Regions from separate parts of the Homo sapiens genome. Here region 2 is linked to region 1. The links are contacts of gene promoters, found by promoter capture Hi-C in blood cells and fetal thymus (Javierre and others, 2016). All regions are on one chromosome and are shown on one strand. The core of a region is centred on a gene start or on the middle of the fragment in contact, and the rest is flanking DNA. Distances in the headings are between cores, read along the strand shown. Region 1 holds the start of ZSCAN30 (zinc finger and SCAN domain containing 30). Region 2 overlaps ZNF396 (zinc finger protein 396).

What was found. The method cuts DNA at HindIII sites, captures the fragments that hold promoters and counts their contacts. A CHiCAGO score of 5 or more calls a contact.
Region 2: a fragment that was not itself captured here is called in contact with the fragment with the promoter of ZSCAN30 in region 1 in 2 of 17 cell types (total B cells and activated CD4 T cells); the score reaches 6.0 in total B cells.

The regions. Positions count from the first base shown.
Region 1 is chr18:35,288,445-35,291,864 of GRCh38, forward strand. ZSCAN30 (zinc finger and SCAN domain containing 30) reads right to left here and starts at 1,785. Exons shown (of 4, transcript NM_001112734.4): 1 at 1,640-1,785. It also overlaps the pseudogene ZNF271P. RefSeq lists an enhancer at 1,902-2,061. The HindIII fragment of the contact is 2,453 bases long and covers 229-2,681 here.
Region 2 is chr18:35,369,290-35,372,826 of GRCh38, forward strand. It overlaps ZNF396 (zinc finger protein 396), which reads right to left. Exons shown (of 4, transcript NM_001322286.2): 4 at 1-371. Among named protein-coding and RNA genes, the nearest start is that of ZNF396, 6.3 kb to the right of the region's middle. The HindIII fragment of the contact is 1,941 bases long and covers 764-2,704 here.

The sequences.
Region 1 (3,420 bases), core at 535-3,034:
TGTACATCTACCATGAGAGAGGGGGAAAAAAGCATATGTCCATATAAAGACGTGTGTACATGAATGTTCTCAGCTTTACTTGTAACAGTAAAAACCTGGAATAACCCAAATGCCCATGAACTGGTGATTGGATAAACAAACTGTGGTATATACATACAATGGAATATTATTCAGCAACAAAAATTAACTATTGATACACACAGCAATAAAGATAAATCTCAAAATAAAAGCTTAGTGAAACAACTCTGACAAAAACAAGGACATTCTGTATGATTCCATTTAAATAAATATCTAGAAAATGCAAACTAATCTCTAGTAACAGCTGACCAGTGGAGGGGGCATTGGGAGAGAGGCTTACCAACGGGCAGGAGGAAACTTTTGGGGTTTAGATGTAATAAACATATTATTTTGATTGCAGTGATAGTTCCACAGCTGTATTCATTTAACAAGCCTTATCAAATTATATCCTTTAAATATTTGCTGTTTATGTCAGTTATACCTCAATAAAGCTGTTTTGTTTTGTTTTGTTTTGTTTTGTTTTGAGACAAAGTCTCGCTTTGTCACCCAGGCTGGAGTGCAGTGGCGCAATCTCGGCTCACTGCAACCTCCGCCTCCTGGGTTCATGGGTTCACGCGATTCTCCTGACTCGGCCTCCCAAGTAGCTGGGATTAAAGGCGCACACCACCATGCCCAGCTAATTTTTGTATTTGTAGTAGAGACAGGGTTTCACCTTGTTGGCCAGGCTGGTCTCCAACTCCTGATCTCAGGTGATCCACCTGCCTCAACCTCCCAAAGTTTTAGGATTACAGGCCTAAGCTGCGCCTGGCCAAAAAGAAAGCTGTTTTTTTAAAACTATCTGCACTCCCTACTTGGGAGGGTTGGACTCAAGTTCCCACATCTCTTTCCTCTTACGGTTATATTAAGGGCTTAGTCATACATCCCTAAATTTCATATATCCCAACAGGGACTTGGGCTGGGACAGGAAGCCCTCTTCCTCCACCTCAACTACCACTTAGCCACCCACCATTTTCTCAAACCTCTTCCTTTCCCCACCGGACAGCTTAAACCAAGTCACACGTCTCATTGGTCTCAACAGAAATGAGGTCCCAACTCCTCATTTCCCAAGATATTTCCATGAACACAGCAATATCCTTTCCTACCCTGATTACCCCGCACCCTCCATTTCGGGTCCTTCTCACCCTGATCAGTGAGAATTGTTCTAGCAAGCAAACCTTAAATAGACCTCGTACCCTTTCTAGATTGCAAAGTAGATAAAAATCCAACTTTCCGTTAATTCAGGGATTAATTACTGAGCATCACTTATTTCTTGGGCAGTGGTTCTCAAAATGTGGTCCCAGGACCAACAGCTTCAGGATCACCTGAGAACCTGGGCTGCCACCGCCCCCTCCCCCACTACTAAATCAGCAACTCCGGAGTTGTGGGGCAGAAGTCAGTATTTTAACAAGGCCTCCAGGTGATTCTGATGCGCGCTACTCTTCTGGGGGTGTGAAAAACCAGAGAGGACAGGAAGAAAGTTAGAATTAAAGCATACCTACGAATCAGATAAGCGATAGGGGGAGGGGTGGTTATTTAAAAAACGATAACTAATTAAGAACTTGTATGTAGTAAGAAAACCTACCCTGCCCCAGAGAGCTTTCCCGAAAGATAATGGATTCCGACATTCACCTCAAGAACCGGCAGACAGAGCAGCAAAGGATCTGTCGCTGGCCAAGCAGGTCCCTGGCTAAGGCACTGCTAGGGACAGCTCGCGGCGGTTCGGGGGTTAATTCTCGGCAGCCCTCCGTCACCCGGTGCCCCACCCCCGCCCTGCGCCTGCGCGGTGAAGCGCCATAGAGCTGAGCACTCCTCCCAGATTCCTAGAGCGGACAGGGCGATGGCAGGTTCGCCGGGTGTGAGGCTTCACAGCGGTCCGGTGACCAAGTCGAGGTAAGGGTGATGTCGGCTCGCGGATAGCAGAGGAGTTCCGGGTGATCTTGCCTAACGAGCAGGAAACTGTGCATGGTTTCTCGAGTCCTTGGAGAGTGAAGGCCCCCGGGGTCGCTCCCGGGCACGGAGAGACGATTGGTTCACGGCCTAGTGTTCGGTTTGTTCCCAGTCAGCCCTTGCTGGCCTTGGGTTCAACCGAATGAACGCCAGAAACTCTGTGGGGTGGGGGGAGTCACCAACCGTGGTGCATCCATACGAATCAGCCTACCGTACTGGGAAAGAGCCACCTGAATTTGTGAATGTTGTAAAAGCAAAAGGAAGAAAAATGATCAGTAGTGTCATTTTTGGATAGGAAGGGCAGCGAATAACATAGTGTTAACCACTAGAATTCACTGTAAAATTCCCCTCTCTGCGTTATCTTTCCAGTTATACCTTTTTTTGGTAGCATTAACCCCTAATTTTGTTTGAACATCTCTAGACTTGGAATGGGGAATGTGTGTCTTAAGTGGGTTAATCCCTGGCTCTTGGATGATGGGGAGGAAGCCTAATACATTCTGAGAGAAAAGCAACTGGAAGTCAAATGAGATTTTTTGTTTTCTCCTTCTTTTATATCTTGAGGATTTTTCTGGTGGTCTAGTCTCAGAGATTACATCTGTAGTCAGCACAATGATTCCCTTCCAAGCCCAGTGGTGCCCAGTTGCCTCCAGGTCCCAGACCTTTATGTGGACAAGAAAAGCTTACAGAGGAAATGGTAATTCTCCACTTGCACACTGAGGTGTCCAGTTGCAGCCCATGGAGATCCAGTTCAATTATGAATCTCAGGAACACCACCTTCTGTCAGGTGAGAGGCAGGGTATTATATCTTTCTTAGTGGCTTTGGCGGGGTGGGGAGGATGAGGGGGTGTCACTCTATGCTAGTGTCTTCAAATGATCCCCCTTAACTCTGTTAGGCAGTATTACCTCTTTAGTGTACCAAGCATAGTCACATGACTTTATTTCAAAATCTGGCGATCAAATTCTCATGCAGCTCTCTCCACTTTTTTAAGACCCCAAAGTCATTCATTTTTCCCTGTATAATGACCTCATTGCTAATCTGTCAGTTTTGGTCATTTTTCTTATCTACTGTAGGGGCATAGTTAAAAGTTCTGGAGTCTGACAACCTAGATTCAAACAGTAGTTTTGTCACTTAACTGGCTCCAGTAAGTTACTCATATATTTTACGATTCTGTTTCCTCACTTTTCAAGTGCATAGTACTTCATACCTTGAAGTTATTTTGAGATTTGTATCTATGTATTACTCCAGAATAAAGAACCCCAAAATTTAGTGACCTAAAACATCAGACTTCTTAAACCACATTATTTCTTATGATTCTGTAGGTCATCAACTTGAGCTGGGTTCACCTGGGCATTTTTTTTTCTCTTGGTCTTTTCTGGGGTCATTTTGCAGTCATCTCAAGGCTGACTCTACTGGGG
Region 2 (3,537 bases), core at 484-2,983, 81 kb after region 1:
GTCATGACACTTGTAGGGCTTCTCACCAGTATGGGTTCGTCGATGCTGAATCAGAATTGCGCTTCGGCTGAATGCCTTTGCACACTCGTCACATGCATAAGGTTTCTTTCCACTGTGGATTCTCTGATGTAAAATAAGGGCTGAGCTCTGACTAAAGATTTTGCCACATTCATCACATTTCTGTTGTTTTTTCCAAGAAGGGTTTCCTTGTCTCTTTTCAAACCTACCATCTTGTTCATAGGTTCCTCTATATGTGGAACTCTGGGAGCCATTCATATGAAGGATATTGGAAACATTGCAATGCAGTTCTATGCCTAAAGAAGTCTTTTGCCTTGAAGCAGATTTCACATTTGTAGTTTTGATGTCTTCATCTGAAATGGAAAAACAAATGTCACCAGGAAAGAGAAAGGATGATCCAAATGAAATATACATGATTATTGCTAGCATGTTTATAAAACAACACACAATGTGAAGGACGGAGAGTGTAAGACAAAATATTGAGAAGTTTATATAAGACATAGAGAAAGGTTTACATACTGAGGAGGCAGTCAACTAAACTGTAAAGTTGCAAAGTTCTATGGAAAAGACAGAATAGGGAATAAGGATAAAAAGATATGTCAGAGACTAAGGAAAGTCTGGAAGGAAAGAAAGGGCTTAGAAAGAAGAAATGATTGGAGACACAGAGAGCTAGAAGGAGAGGAATCCAATGTGCCAGTGGGAGTAACAAACAAGATTTAGTACTGGAGTATCAATAAATAAATAAAGCTTAATATTCATAAAGGAATCAGTAACTATGCAAAGAAATGAGCTGAAGAAAGCCAAGGGGCCAAAAAGGAATGTGGAAAATAAAGTAAGAAAATATAAGTTAGGCCAATAAAGGGAAGATTATAGACTAGGATAACTAGTACCTCAAAAGATCAAGGGTAGCAGAGTACCCACTGATGAAAAACCTCTACTCCTGTATGGATTTTATATTACTGGTTGAATCGCTGTTTGTTGTATTATTTTGTATTACATTTAACATCCATGAAAAACGTACATGGCTGCTTATGGGCTGCGGCCACTCAGGCGGCACACAAACCTGGCTTGATGCAGAGGGCCTTATGACTCAGGGTGCCTAAAGCTCCAGCAGAACTGCTAACTCAGATGTGAAAATGCCAGTGTAATGTGGTTGCATTACCTGAAGAAATCACTTCAGTTATCCTCATGGTGGCATTTTTTTTTTTTTTTTTTTTTTTTTTGAGACGGAGTCTCGCTCTGTCGCCCAGGCTGGAGTGCAGTGGCGGGATCTCGGCTCACTGCAAGCTCCGCCTCCCGGGTTCACGCCATTCTCCTGCCTCAGTCTCCCAAGTAGCTGGGACTACAGGCGCCCGCCACTACGCCCGGCTAATTTTTTGTATTTTTTAGTAGAGACGGGGTTTCACCGTTTTAGCCGGGATGGTCTCGATCTCCTGACCTCGTGATCCGCCCGCCTCGGCCTCCCAAAGTGCTGGGATTACAGGCGTGAGCCACCGCGCCCGGCCCATGGTGGCATTTTAACTGAAGCTGCTGAAAGACAGGAGCTTAAAATGAGTTTATAAAAGCAAAGTACAACAGTTTTGGACATGTCTGGGGAGATGACTTGGCTGGGGCTGACTGTGACTACTGGGGGTGCCTTTATCTGAAGTAATTATATAAATAAGATTAAAAGCAACCCAGAGAGGTACTGATGATAAGTGATTCCCTGGGCCCTCTCAAGGCCTAATGAAAAGGTTAGGGTGAGAAAGGTAGTCTGGGGAGAAGAATTAGTGATGCAATGTGATACTGAATAAGAAAACTGAGTTGTTGTTTTACTCTTTAGAATTTACTTAAAATGGATCTACCTGCTGTCTCTACAATCTCCTTAGAATCACCCAACATAAGCTCAAATCTTAACATAAGCCCTTCCCAATTCCTTCTTAATGACACACCCCATAGTTTCTGTGCCGTGTTCTCTTTCTTGCTGCAGCAAACTAAATAAACCTAACTTGAAAAAATATATAAAAATCAAATCAAATGGGTCTAAATAGTTATTACAAAAGGAATTTAAAATTATTTATTGTATTTATTCACAAATATGGTGTCTCAGTCCATTTTCTGTTGTTTAGAATAGAATACCTGAACTTGAGTAATTTATTTATAAAAAGAATTTATTTCTTATAGTTATGGAGGTTGAGAAGTCCAGGGTGGAGGGGTGCATCTGGTGAGAGCCTTCTTGCTGGTGGAGACCCTCTGAAGAGTCCTGAGGCAGTGGAGGGCATTTCATGGTGAGGGGGCTGAGCATGCTAATATGCTAACTCAGCCCTTTCTTCCTCTTCTTATAAAGTTACCAGTTCTCCTATGATCACCAATTAACCCATTAATCCATGAATGAGTTAATCCATTTATGAGGGCAGGGGTGATAATTCAATTACCTCTCAAAGGCCTCACTTCTCAATACTGCCACACTTGGGATTAAGTTTCAACACAAGTTTTGGAGGAGACAAATATTCAAACCATAGCATATGGCATACTCATTTATTATTACTAGTTTAAGTGGAAATCATTTTATAAATGGTAAGGATTCTGTCTCAAATTCATTTTTGATAGTTTATATTCCAAAGTGACCTCAATGATTAGTCATTACTATCAAAATCCTGGCATCAATTAGTACTTTACAGTACTGAGACCAAGATCATCTCCCAGAAGCTTTCATAAGACATGACTCAGTACCACAGAAATCATGTTGTGGCCTTAAGAAATGGTTCTATTATTCTATCAAGTGATTCTGGTTCTCTCTGCCTTGTACTGCAAGATCCTGGACCTGTTGCATTCTGTTTCAAATTTCTACGAATCTTAAAAAAAAATGTAGGAAAGGCCTCCATGAGGACATTCACAGGTAGGATGTGGTTCTTGCCACACCTGGCTTTGAGGTTGATCACTTCTGTAGTCACCACCACACCAAGCTGCTGAGGCTGGGATGGTCTCCCTCCCTTTCCTGACGGAAAATACTTTTTCGTGAAAAGACTTTCACTTTTCTAAGTATACCAAGACAATTTCTAGACTGGAGGTATTACGTGTCCCAGTATAAGCCTTCAGAGAGCCAGTACTTGCCAAGTTAGGGTGAACAATGTTTTCTAAATCTCTTTCTAAATTACTGTATTTCCTTTGTGTAGTTTCTTATAAAAATTCCCTTGGAAAAACTCTAACCTTGCTTAGCTATCAGCCACTCCTGAACTATGGAAGCAGTGCTGGAGAGAAGGAAGGAGATGCTCCCAAGTAGGATTTCCCTCTTAATCTCTGGCTCCTATTTTATCCAGGATGATCATCTAGAAGGAGGGTCTCTGCTCAAATGTCGCTTCATCAGAGAGGCCTTTCTACCACTCTATATAATAAGATCCTATCCCCACCATTCTGTTTAAAGTAGCATGGCCCTTTTATCAAATGAAATTTTACATTGAGTTCCAATATATAAAACAGACGAAAACACAGCTACTCTGTCTGAAGCAGGAGCAGTCACAGCCTACAAGGCCTCTAACT